Regions from separate parts of the Homo sapiens genome. Here region 2 is linked to region 1. Evidence: promoter capture Hi-C in 16 types of primary human blood cells and fetal thymus (Javierre and others, 2016). All regions are on one chromosome and are shown on one strand. The core of a region is centred on a gene start or on the middle of the fragment in contact, and the rest is flanking DNA. Distances in the headings are between cores, read along the strand shown. Region 1 holds the start of FBRS (fibrosin). Region 2 overlaps ITGAL (integrin subunit alpha L).

The links. Contacts are between HindIII fragments. The CHiCAGO score rates a contact against its expected background, and 5 or more counts as called.
Region 2: a fragment that was not itself captured here is called in contact with the fragment with the promoter of FBRS in region 1 in 1 of 17 cell types (monocytes); the score reaches 5.2 in monocytes.

Annotation. Positions count from the first base shown.
Region 1 is chr16:30,655,277-30,661,934 of GRCh38, reverse strand. FBRS (fibrosin) reads right to left here and starts at 3,504. Exons shown (of 18, transcript NM_001105079.3): 1 at 1,958-3,504; 2 at 1,493-1,672; 3 at 720-755; 4 at 602-631. The coding sequence starts at 2,416. PRR14 (proline rich 14) reads right to left here. Exons shown (of 12, transcript NM_024031.5): 9 at 6,515-6,584; 10 at 6,342-6,433; 11 at 5,996-6,067; 12 at 5,522-5,903. The coding sequence ends at 5,624. RefSeq lists enhancers at 949-1,108, 2,789-3,238 and silencers at 2,319-2,368, 2,439-2,668, 3,489-3,668, 3,719-3,798, 3,829-4,088. The HindIII fragment of the contact is 16,259 bases long and covers 1-6,658 here.
Region 2 is chr16:30,510,939-30,517,596 of GRCh38, reverse strand. ITGAL (integrin subunit alpha L) reads right to left here. Exons shown (of 31, transcript NM_002209.3): 23 at 6,637-6,658; 24 at 6,461-6,547; 25 at 3,751-3,826; 26 at 511-624. Among named protein-coding and RNA genes, the nearest start is that of MIR4518, 10 kb to the right of the region's middle. The HindIII fragment of the contact is 4,411 bases long and covers 1-3,889 here.

The DNA of each region.
Region 1 (6,658 bases), core at 2,255-4,754:
GACAAGAACCCTCTGGTTCACCACAGTCCTATCCAGCCAACTTTTGAAACAAAAACAAGACACACATCAGGGAGTGCAAATTGAGTTACTTACATGGGCCCAATGGGTAGCGCATTAACTTCTAGGACATACTATCTCACAACAAGCAAATCGCCCCTAAGGATAAACTCAAATACACCTTTATGGGCTGAGTCCCTACACTGACTACAATGATTTAGTGTCCTCACTACTCTATCTGCGGTCTCTGCTCAGACTTGAATCTAGATCTTCATTCTAAGATGGGAAGAAGGCCCATCTCAGTGCCACAGCCACTCTGGGTTTCCGTGGAGAACCAGAAGTAGCTCAAGGGCTTTGGAAAGGATAGTATGCCAAAGCATGGACCCTCCATTCCTTGGTCAGCTAACCCCTAGTCACCAAAAGAAAAAATGACGCCATTTACCCTCCCAATCCACCCCCGTTCCTCCCAAAAACCTAATCCTGACTCAACCTAAGCCATGTTTCTCACTCAAGGGAAGGCTGTCTGCTGCACGCAGAAGACCTTTATGCTGCAGTCCCTTTTACAAGCAGTGACACTGCCCACCCAAGCTCTAGCCCCACTCACCCTCTCGTCCAGATCACTTTCCGCGTCACACTGGGGAGAAGGAAAGACAGAGGTGTCACGAGAGGGAAGAGGCCCAGGGTGGAGCAGGGAGGGGCCAGGACAGGTGGATAGCACTTACTATGTATCCAGCTTCCAGAGAGTGACGGGAGGACGCCTGAGGAAGACCAGAGTCCAGAGGTGAGGGAGGCGGCTGCTGAGGCAGCTGGGAAAGTCGCAGCTCCCAGCAGGGCGCTCATGGGCCTCCAGGATCTACTCTCAGCCTCTCCTTCCAGCTGCTTCTCCCGCCACTGCCCACCCGGGTCCCAGTGCTCTCACCATTCTCTAAATACGCCGGGTCCTCACGTCTTCATGCTCTTGCCCAAAACAACTTTTCCCCGTGTCTTTTCTTAGCAAACTTCTGACTATACTTCAGGACCTGACTAAGACATCCTAGGGGGCTTTCCCCAACCACAACTCTCCTCCCATCCCCCAGGCAGCACAAGCGGCTTCCTCATGTGGGTTTCTGTAGCATCTCTCCCCATCTTTGTCTTCTGTAGCTTCTCAAATTAAGGTCTAGGTGTTTGCTTGCTGGCTATTTCTTTTCTGCTGGACTGCCACCACCTCGAGGAAGGGCAGGAACCACAATTAATTTACGACCCAACTATATTCCTTTGACGCCTCTCTGAATTATCAAAACGTTTGAAGTAGACACAGAACCAGGCAAAAGGAGGTGCACCTGACTGTAGACAGGCCTTCGTCAGACCCGGATGAGTAAGGGCTCAAATTTGCCCTGCTTGCCTCTTTGCCCTTAGAAACTGGGGTCTCTGTTTACAAGGGGCAGTGGCGTTGCTGATGAAAAACGGGGCTGTGGGAAATACATTCTGCCTAAAGAGTTTTAAGGGACAACCTCACCTCTTTTCTTCTCCGCTTATTGGGCCATTTTCGGGCCCGATCCCCAGGGGGCCGGCCAGGCTCTCGATCAGAGCTGTCCCCTGGCTCCCCGGTGGCCCCACTGGAGCCCCCCCTTTTCCGCTTCCCAGAATGCTTCAGCCGATGTTCCAGTCGCTCTGGGGGCTGAAGAGATGCATCCTTCTGTGGAGGAGGAGGTGGGGCTGAGATAGATGGAAAAGGGCAAGCTCCCAACCCCTCTAGGGGTGACCAGGTTGCCGAAGTACCCCTCGGGCCGGGAAACCGGGTCCCCAGAGACGAGCTCTACCTCCTCCCACCCCAGGGCGGGGCAGAGGCCTGGCCAGAGGAGCCGGTTGCTCTGGTTTGGGGTGCCAGCATTCCCCCCTCAACTCCACCCACTAGGGGCACTGCCCCCTCCTTGCTGCCCCTCGGAAACCCCCAAAGTCTCCTAGCCCCATTAGGCCCCACCTGCAAGGCCTCGAGGGTGGCGAAGCTGGCGATGGCGAAGCCATCGATCAAGTCCTCCTCCTCCTCTTCCTCCTCCTCAGGCTCCTCCTCGGCTTCGCCGTCGTCTGCGCCCCCCTCCTCCTCCTCCTCCTCCTCTTCCTCCCCGCGGCTGCCCGAGCCGGCAGGCCGCTTCCGAGCTCGGGGTCGCGGGGGTCGAGGTCTCGGACGGGGCCGCCGGCGTCTCGGGCCCCCAGGCCGCTCTCCAGACGAAGCTGACGACCAAGGCCTGGCGGGCGGCGGCGGCGACGACGAGGACGAGGAGCCGCGCGGGGCGGCCAACAGGGCCCGGGGCGCGTCGCCGCCTGGACCTCGGCGGCGCCGCTGCTCCCGGTCTCGGTCTCGGCGCGAGCAGCGCCGCCGTCGGCGCTCCCCCTCTGCTGCCCAGCCCGGACCCGGGGCCGCGGCCGCTGCCGTCTCCATGGCGACCGCCCTCAGCGCCGCATCCGGAGGCGGCGGGGCCCGAAGCGGCCTGTCCGCAGGCCCGGGGTCGCAGGCGCGGCGCTGGCGGCTGCACAGTGACGAGAGGGCCACGGCTTCTCCTTTAAAGCCGGATCTGCTGGCCCCGAGCTTGCCCCAAGGCCACGGCCCGGGGAGCCGGCGCCGCCCCCGGGGCGACAAGCCCGAGGGCCCCCCCTGCGGGCTCGGCGGGGCCGCGACGGCGAAAACGGGGCGGCCGTCCCTTTAAGGCGAGGCCCCAAGTTGTCCAGCTCCCGGCCCCTTTAAGACGACCCGACAGTGTCCGGCGGCCTAGTGCGGTGGCCACCCCCTGCCAGGGGTCGATGCAAGTCTCCCCGAGGAAGAGGAAGGGCCACCCCTTTAAAAGGGGCCGAAAGCTCGCCCCGAAACGCAGACCTCCCCTTTAAAAGTGTCTCAAGTCCTCCGGCTCAAAGAGGCCACCCCTTTAAGGAGTCCAGGGTCCTTCTAACAGCAGGCCGTCCCTTTAAGGGCTCGGAGTTAGTTTCTAGTCCTCCACAAGCGGCCACTTCCCCTTTAAGTTGAATTTAAAAGACTTCTTGTGTGTGGGGGAGGAGGACGTAAAGAAAAACCCCACTCGCCCCAGTTCTCCCAACGGCACAGTTCTCAATTTGTCAGCGTCTGCTCGGCGGCTTCCCCTTTAAGGCTGGCGTTGCAGTCCGCCGAGTTCAGTGGCCACCCCTTTAAGGAGATTTAAAGGGGCCTCCTCCGGGCCCAGCTCCTCCAGCCTCCGCCTCCGGTCGCCATGAAAGGCGCGAGGCGGGGCGGGGCAGCGAGGCCAGCCCTCCAAAGCCCCGGATGTGAGGCAACGGTGACGGGTACAGCTCCCCTGTCCGCCGACATAAAAGTCTCTTCCTCCTTTCCTCCGTCTCTGTCCGACTTGGGCCTTAGGGGATCCGGAACGGCCGATGGGCAGCGGGGGAGCTCCAGCACAAACTCCTGTTGTCTCCTTTGGAGTCTTAGGGCGCTTCTCCGCCAGGACTTCCCTACCCCTCCTCCCTCTTCCTCCTCAGCCTACGCCTCCTTCCTCTCTCGGCCTCCTCCCACGCTCCGCCCCCTTCCCCTCACCCCCAACGGGCGCAGTCGTTGATAGGCTGGGAGGGCTACGTCAAGGTGAGGGGCGGAGCCAAACCCGAGGGAGTGGGTGCATGTAACCGCCCTCAAATCTTGGATTGGGTTACGTCGGATTGGCTCCGCCCTTCCCCCCAGTCTTGTGACTCGACTGGTTAGAAGTAGGTGTTTGGGGCGGTTACTACAGGGCCCCGCCTCTTCCTGCTGTTTGTTTATTGGCCGGTCTCCTGATGGCGTCGAGGCGAGGGGCGGAGACGCGGGGCCTGAGGCGTTGGGGGCGGTTGGCCGCCGGGGGGCGCGCGGCTGCAAGAGGTTCCGTTCCACAGCCAGTTAAGTCATCGCCGCCTTTCCGCCGCTCGGCGCGGCCCACAGACAGCCTGGCGTCTCGCGCACGCGCGTGGCGGCGCCGCCGTCAGGCTGGCTGCTTGCGAGTCGTTCCGCGGCCCGGGGTGGCCCGAGCGGCCGCGTGCTGTGCCTGCGCCTGCGCCGGCCGCACTAACAGGCAGCCGCGTCCCTTCCAGGCGCGGCTGCTGGCAGCGGTCCCGAGTGCTAGCAATTCGAAAACGCCTTGCACCTGCATGAGCGCTTCTCCGCGTTTGTGACTGCGTTTGGTAATAATTCCATGAAGGAGATGCTGTCAGCCCCATTTTACTGGGACGGAAAGGAATGCGCGCACAGACGGGCTGGTAGTCTCCTAGCCACGTCTATGTCAGCCACTGCCCTGTGATGCCTCTCAGTTATGAAAGATGCACCCCACTGCTCAATGTGACTGGCTTAAAAAAAAAGAGACAGCCATTTCTGGCCTTCGGTTGCCCGGGTTACCGTTTTAAAAGTGGACAGCGCGCTGACATGCCTGCCTTGCTTTCTCGTCCATAAAATGACTAATTCCCTGTCGCAGGGACATGTGCAGGTCAAGCACCTATGACAGTCGTCGTGAGTGCTTCATTATGGCCCATTACTCTTAGCTCTTTGTTTTGTTTTGTTTTTTTGGGGGGGACAGAGTCTGGCTGTGTTCCCTAAGCTGGAGTGCAGTGGTGCGATCTCAGCTCATTACAACCTCTGCCTCTCGGGTTCAAGTGAATTCTCCTGGCTCAGCCTCCTGAGTAGCTGGGATTACAGGTACACACCAAGACACCCAGCTAATATTTGTATTTTTAGTGGAGACGGGGTTTCACCATGTTGGCCAAGCTGGTCTCGAACTCCTAGGCTCCTGTGATCCACCTGCCTCGGCCTCCCAAAGCGCTGGGATTACAGGCGTAAGCCACCGCACCTGGCCTAGCCGTAGCTCTTGAATCCAGCAGCAGGTCCTGGCCTGCATGTTAGCAGGAATTCAGGGCCATCTTGATCTTCAAGGCCTTGACCCACTATAGGCCTTTCAGTCTCCTTGATATAAATGAATTGGGAGAACCCAGACCACGGTCTAGGGTCACAGTATCATCTGGCACTGATTCAGAAGTGTCCCTCCACACAGGAGAATCCTCTAAGCAAGAGAGTATCTCTAGGCCGGGCATGGTGGCTCATGCCTGTAATCCCAGCACTTAGGGAGGCCAAAGCAGGCGGATTTCCTGAGGTCAGATGTTCAAGACCATCCTGGCCAACATGGTGAAGCCCAGTTTCTACTAAAAATACAAAAATTAGCGGGTGTGGTAGCGCACGCCTGTAATCCCAGATACTTGGGAGGCTGAGGCAGGAGAATCGCTTGAATGAGGGAGACAGAGGTTGCAGTGAGCCAAGATCGTGCCATTGTACTCCAGCCTGAGTGACATGAGCGGAACTCCATCTATATCTATCATCTATCTATCTATCTATCTATCTATCTATCTATCTATCTATCTCAAGTGACCACTTCACCCCCTCCCTGTACTCTGTACCCAACCCCTGTCACCATCTCTAGCACCAGCCCCAGTTCCCAGACCTTTGGGGGTCAACGTAGAAACATCAGCCAAATCAATCTTAAACTCAGCTAGAGATACAAAAGAATCAGAAACATATCGAAAACTTTACTAGAAATATAGAGAAAAAAAAATAACTGCCTGGGAGGTTTCCTGTCCCTTCAGGATGGATGACCAACAGATGGGGCACCTAGGTCCAGTGGGGCTGCTCCCGATCTACTGTTTCTTCCTCCAGGAGCAAGGCATCTAGCTCCTCCAGCCGCTGCTGGAGCAGGGGGCCCACATCAGGGCTGGGGGCCACATTGGGAGGAACAGTCCTGCCCCCTGCAGCCCGGACCCCACGGGACGGTCTTCGTGATCGAGGAAGGCTGCTGTCCCGAAATTCCACAGCCCGCCGGAGCTTCCTTGAGCTGGTGAAAATCAGAGTCCCATTGCGCTCCCGGGGTTCCTCAAAGATGGTCTCAAAGGTCCTGAACAAGGCAGGGAGAGGAGCTGGTTTTATCAGGGTGCTCCACAGCTCCAGATTTCCCTCTGCCACCCTCTAGCCTTCCAAGTGTCTCACCTCCTGGTTGTGGGTGATTGGTAATTCTTGTTGGTGTAAATTTCTTCCAAGCTGAACTCCTTCTTGTTCAACCTGTGAGCAAAGAGCAGAGGCCACTGAGAAACCTTGGGCCAGTGGGGCCTGAAGGGACAGGTAAGGCCTGGTCTGTATTTCAGTTTCTGGGACATGTCAGGGCCAGGAGTGCTACATAAGGCAGACAGGCAATTTTGAGCACAAACCATCCCCACACCGAATTGAATCTTTCAGGCTGGACTGTGCTCCCTGAGGGGAGACAAAGCTATACTTCAGGGGACATAAGCCTGCATCTGTTTGGCCAAGATGGCTCAATGCCCAGTGAGCCCCTCACCTGATTGGTCGAGGCAGTCCCATTGGTGTAAGGTTTAGCTGAGGACGGGCTGGTGTTCTGCGTATTCTGAATCGAGAAACCTTTCCCATGGTCTGCAAAAATGGGGCAGAGGGTGAAAGAGTGACATGGGCTCAGGCCCCCACTAGTCTCTTCTACCCGATCTGAATGCCTACCTTGGTCTCAGGTTCTGAAAGCACCTGGTCCTTTGAGGCTCTTGGCTCCTTCCCTTTGGTTGAACCCAACCTGCCAAGAAGGTCAAGGCTCAGGGACAAACAGGATTCACTGCATTATCCCCCGTCTCCTGCCCACTGGATACT
Region 2 (6,658 bases), core at 435-2,934, 140 kb after region 1:
ACTGGCATCCCAGCTTTCCCCTGCCCTGGCCCTGGCCCTGGGTGAGTTCAGACATCTCTGAGTCCAGCAGGACCTGAATTCATCCATCCTTACTCTCCATACACCCAGCCTTGCCCCCTTGATTTTTTTTTCTTTGTTAGAGACAGGGTCTTGTTCTGTCACCGAGGCTGGAGTGCAGTGGTGCCATCATAGCTCACTGCAGCCTCAAACTCCTAGGTTCAAGTGATCCTCCCGCCTCTGCCTCCTGAGTAGCTGAGACCACGGGCACGGGCCACCATGCATGCCTGGATAATTTTAAAATTTGTTTGTAGAGACTGGAGTTGTGCTATGTTGCCCATGCTGGTCTCAAAATCCTGGCCTCAATGGATTCTCCCACTTCAGCCTCCCAAAGTGCTGGGATTTGGGAGGCAGAGCCACCGCACCTGGCCAAGCCCTGCCCTCTGTACCCTCAAATGCACTCACCCCCAAGACCTGAGGAGGGTAGACCCTCCCTCTACAGGCAGCACTCACCATCTGCACGCTCCACTGGTGTGTGATGGGCCCCTCGCTGGGAGGCTGTGGCACCCCAACCACAGCCTCCAGGGTGGGTATGTTGTGGTCGTGGATGGAAGGCTGGATCCTCACCTGGCACAGAGGACAAGGGATGCAGAGCCCTGAATGCCAGCCACCCCAGCTGCCCCCCAGACCCTGTGTGCCCTTGCACGCCTCTTCCAGTCCTCATTGGCTGAGTCCCCAGGGCCCTTGTCGGTTAGGCAGTGTCCAGTGACTGGGCATGGCCAGCTTCCGTCCTCAGGGCCTTGCAGTGTGGCTTCCATGCTCTTCCAGCTTTCTCCGCCCAGCACACTCTCACACACCCTGCAAGGGCCTGCTCTAATATTATCTCTGAAGGCTTCGCTGACTCCCCAAGGACAGGGCAGCTCCCCCTCCTGGGCTCCCACAGTGTGCTCTGCGTCCCCAGCAGGACGGCAAAGGATCTGCTTGGATGTCTGCATCTCCACTAGACCATGAACTCCCTGAGGACAGGAGCCATTCTTACTCCACCTCCAATCCCCTACTGCTTGACACAGTGCCTAGTGTGGTGGCTCACACCTGTAATCCCAGCACTTTGGGAGGCTGAGGTGGGCAGATCACTTGAGGTCAGGAGTTTGAGACCAGCCTGACCAAGATGGTGAAACCCCGTCTCTACTAAAAATACAAAAATTAGCCAGGTGTGGTGGCACAATCCTACAGTGCTGGGTACTCTGGAGGCTGAGGCAGGAGAATTACTTAAACCCAGGAGGTGAAGGTTGCAGTGAGCCGAGATCATGCCACTGCACTCCAACCTGGGCGACAGAGTGAGACTCCGTCTCAAAAAAAAAAAAAAATTTCTGAGCACCTTTTATTAAAAAAAGAACTACCTGTGTTAAGGCTGGGAGACTCAGATATGTGTAAGAAAGTGACACAGAAGTGGCACTAACAATGTCTCAGGAAGCAGGGAAATGTATCAAATTAGAAGGATTCTATCATTTATTCATTCAACGAACATTTGTGGACACTTGAAATACCAGTTAAATTAAAAAGGCCAAATGTCAGGGGCAGTATTTGAATTTGACTGTGAAAGATGGACAGGATTTTTTTTTTTTTTTTAGACAGAATATCACTCTGTCACCCAGGCTGGAGTGCGATGGCACGATCACAGCTCGCTGCAACCTTCACCTTCCAGGTTCAAGCGATTCTCCTGCCTCAGCCTCCCCAGTAGCTGGGACTACAGGCACACACCACCACACCTAGCTAATTTTTGTATTTTTAGTAGAGATGGGGTTTCATCATGTTGGCCAGGCTGGTCTTGAACTCCTGACCTCAGGTGATCTGCCCACCTGGGCCTCCCAAAGTGCTGGGGTTACAGGTGTGAGCCACCGCGCCTGACCAGATGGACAGGATTTTAACAGATGAAGGTGGGAGAGGGCATCCAAGAAGAGACATGTGGGGAGCCAGGATGGCACCAGGTGAGAGGGATGTGGCTGGAAGGAGGGTGCCTGGGAAGGAGAACAGGAGCTGAGGCTGGAAAGGAAGCCCAAGATCACACTATGGGGCCTGGAAGGCTTGAGAGTGAGGAGTTGGAGCAGCATCAAGGAGGCAGTGGGAAGTCACAGAAGGTGGCAGAGGAAGAGAGTGGCTCCAGGGAGGTCCATCCCCTGCAGGCATGAGCTGGAAAGAGGCTGGGAGAGGCGGGTCATGGCCCATGTTGGGAGCCTCTCTCAATAGTCCAGTTGCAAGAAGGTGAGGAATTGGGTCTGGGCGGTAGCAGAAAAAGGACACAGACAACCAGACTCCAGCAGGCAGTGGGACAAAGCAGGAGGAAGGAGAAATTCACCCAGACACGTTAAGTTTTCCTTGAGAAAGAGATGGTGCTTTCAAAAGATTCCACGCAAGCCAGAGGAGATGCTGGCTTAGGGGAAGACAGCAAATTTGGTTTAGAATATGTTGAGACCAGGCCAGGCACAGTGGCTCACGCCTGTAATCTCAGCACTTTGGGAGGCCGAGGTGGGCGGATCACCTGAGGTCAGGAGTTTGAGACCAGCCTGGCCAACATGATGAAACCCTCTCTCTACTAAAAATACAAACATTAGCCTGGCGTGGTGGTGGGCGCCTGTAATCTCAGCTACTCAGAAGGCTGAAGCAGGAGAATTGCTTGAATCCAGGAGGCGGAGGTTGCAGTGAGCTGAGATTACGCCACTGCACTCCAACCTGGGTGACAGAGCAAGACTCTACCTCAAAAAAAAAAAAAAAAAGAAAAGAAAAAAGAAAAGGTAAAAATAAAGCACCAGGCACAGAACCTGGGTTTGGAGACTGGGCAGGATGCCAGCACCTAGCTAAATACCTAACTTAGAATAGGCCAGGTGTGGTGGCTCATGCCTGTAGTCCTAGTACTTTGGGAGGCTGAGGTGGGTAGATCACTTGAAGTCAGGAGTTCCAGACCAGCCTGGCCTACAGGGCAAAACTCCGCCTCTACAAAAAATACAAAAGTTAGCTGGGCATAGGGCCGGGTGCGGTGGCTCATGCCTGTAATCCCAGCACTTTGAGAGGCCACGAGGGGGGAAGATCACGAGGTCAGGAGTTCAAGACCAGCCTGGCCAACATGGTAAAACCCCATCTCTACTAAAAATACAAAAATTAGCCGGGCATGGTGGCACATGCCTGTAATCCCAGCTACTTGGGAGGCTGAGGTAGGAGAATGGCTTGAACTCAGGAGGCGGAGGTTGCAGTGAGCTGAGACCGTGCCACTGCACTCCAGCCTGGGTGACAGAGTGAGACTCCGTCTCAAAAAAAAAAAAAAAAATTAGCTGGGCATGGTGGTGGATGCCTGTAATCTCAGCTACTTGGGAGGCTGAGACAGGAGAATTGCTTGAACTTGGGAGGCAGAGTTTGCAGTGAGCCGAGATTGCACCACTGCACTCAAGCCTGGGTAACAAACAGAGCAAAGAATAGTAGCTCATTCAGTGTTGTTATGAAAAAGCAGGTTCTCTCTCAGCATCCTCCTTGCTCTCAAGTCCTGTGATTCTTGAAATAATGCATCCAGTGGCAGAAAGGAGTTAGCATATGCTGCTGCTGGAAGCCTGTAAGTGGAGGCTGTGACACTCTAGAGAAAGGATTATTGAACAGTTGGATGGCTAGGATGAGTACTGTGTCTACTTGGTGCCTGCATCCTCAGTCCCCGGGATAAAGAATGAATGTGTGACCTATAAGGACCTTCCACATTGGGATTCATACCTGGTACATGTGCTTGACTTGGTGGATCTTGGGGCCTTTGGGGGTGAAACTGACATAGAGTGTGGAGTCTTCTTGGCTGCGGAGAGAGAAGGGCAGCGATGGAAGAACGAAGTGACAGCAACCCGGGCTCCAGGAAGCTTCTGAGCGCCCAGCCACTGTGCTAGGAACGGCACAGATACCATCTCATTCAATCCCTACCACAACCTGCTCTTTCCCAGAAACTAAGGCTCCTGGACAGGGCCAGCCTCTTGTCCAAAGCTTCTCCACAGTGGAGAGACAGGACTGGAGCCCAGGGAAGTGTGTCCAGTGGAGGCTATGTCCTCCCCACTGCGCGCCACCTCACCAGTGTCTCCACTGTCCTCTGGGCCCTGCTCATCTCCTAGATAATCGTATCCACTGCTGATGCCCCTCGCACCCATCCTTCCAACACACACTGCTGGGTGACCTTCCCAACATCACTCTCTAGTCCTGCCACTCACCTGCTCAGCATTGGCCAACGGCCCCCTACTGCGAGGGAGGGTCAGGTCCAAAGCCTCCCATGTCCAGGCAGTCTCCTCACTGCTCCCCTGCACACACCTGCCCTTGGCTAATCCTGCCCAATCCCTGTCCCCCAGGTATGCCCCACTGCTTCCTCCCTCCTTGCCTTTGTCTGGGCCATGGTCTCTGATGAGGACATCTAGGTTCCTTTTTAGCTCTTCCCCTAATGGCCTCATCCTCCAGACCCCAGTCCAAGCCGCACTTTCTCCACGAACTCTTCCATTTCTCCCCCAACCCACACTCATCTTTCCTGGCTCTAATTTCATGTCAGTATCATACTGTGTGGCATTGATGTTCAAAAGCACTGGAGGCCAGGCGCGGTGGCTTACGCCTGTAATCCCAGCACTTCAGGAGGCTGAGGCAGGTAGATCACCTGAGTTCAGGAGTTTAAGACCTGCCTGGCCAACATGGCGAAACCCTGTCTCTACTAAGAATACAAAAATTAGCTGGGCATGGTGGCAGGCACCTGTAGTCCCAGCTACTCGGGAGGCTGAGGCAGGAGAATTGCTTGAACCCTGGAGGAGGAGGTTGCAGTGAGCCGAGATTGTGCAACTGCACTCCAGCCTGGGCAACAGAGCGAGACTCTGTCTCTTAAAAAATAAAAAAAATTTAAAAAGCACTAGAGACCTGAGCTCAGACACTGTCCCCGTCCTTCTCTGTCCTTCTGTAACTGAGCCAACTGGAAAAAGCCACTCGATTTTGAGTTTCCTTTTTTTTTTTTTTCACACAGGGTCTCACTCTGTCACTCAGGCTGGAGGGCAGTGGCATGATCTCGGCTCACTGCAACCTCCTCCACCCGGGTTCAAGCAATTGTCCTGCCTCAGCCTCCTGAGTAGCTGGGATTATAGGTGCCTGCCACAACGCCGAGCTAATTTTTGTATTTTTAGTAGAGACAAGGTTTCACCATGTTGGCCAGGCTGGTCTTGAACTACTGACCTCAAGTGATCCACCCACCTTGGCCTCCCAAATTACTAGGATTACAGGTGTGAGCCACCACACCTGGCCAAGTTTCCTTTTCTATAAGCGAGAAGACCTGTAACAGGTTTTTTTGAAATAGCAAAAAACGGACATAACTCCCTCCATTTTTGTTGAAGAGGCCTTTACCCATTCCTGCCCATAGGCTAGGATAATTTTAGAGCACTGAGATAACATGCAAAAACAGCTATCATGTAGTTTTTAAAACTAAGTCTGGCATTAAAGGGGACGTTTGTAAACAACTAACTATGTTTTGTTAAAGATTTATAGAAGCACTGTGACCTGACCAAGGACCAAGAAGTTCCCAACCTCCTTGTATCCTCTCTGGTGCCCAGATGTCTGTGCTAAGTTACCTCTTGATCTTAACCCCTTTCTCTTCCCCCTACCCTTAACATTACAGATGGTCCTTTAGAACACTAGTTCACTGTCTTCTCAATTGCCTGGCTTTCCAGATAAACCTGCCTTTCCTCCCACCAACTCTTGCTTCTTAAGTCTGGCTTTCAAGTAACAAGCAGCCAGACCAGAGTTCAGTTACAAACCCAACTAGCGATCCCCATGGTTCCTTCCTGCTACTGTGTTCTGAGAGTCACTGACTCTGTGTGTGCATGAGTTTGGGCTCTCCCACTTGACTGTAAGCTCCCTGAGGGCAAGGGGTATTGTGATAACTTTTCTCCTATCTCTCCTGGCATTATCGGCCCCCAGGAGGGGAGAGAATCTAGGGTGACTGAAACAGTCAGGAGCTTGGCTGGGCCTTTGGAGTCAGACAGGCTGAAGCTCAGACCCTGGCTTTAGTACTTCCAGCTATTGGACCTTGGGTAAGTGCCGGCCTTCTCTGAGCCTCAGCTTGTTCATTGGTAAAATGGAGAGCGGCACAGCTGCCTCACAGAGGTGCTGAGGGCTCCAGGCAATGTCAGCAACTGCGCAGTGCAGCTGGCCCTCAGTCTGACATAAAATTAGTGTTCAATGAGCTTTTTCTTCCATCAGTAAATGCTAATCCTTCCCTGAGCTCTTCCATGGCCCTCACATTTTGGAATGTTGAAAACTTTTGGGGTTGTGGCTGGAATCAGTTCTAATTACCCCAAGGGGCTCTAAGAAAGGAAGGAGGTTCAGAAGGAGAGCCCCAGGAGCAAAGTCGGGGCCCTGGGTTGGGAGGCTGCGGTGGGAGGAGAGGGTTGGCTGTCTGCTGGGAAGAACTTACTCCTGGATGAGGATGTTGATGGGGTACAGGATGGGGATGATGGTAGTGGCTGAGTTGTCCTCCAGGAGGTCTGAGTCCTCATTGTTACTGCATTGGGGCAAGGAAGAGGCCAGTGTTAGGAGAAGGGCTTGGCCAGGTCTGAGACCATGGCAGGGATGTGGGCGGGGCCTGCTCACCAGGTCACATTGGCGTGCAATT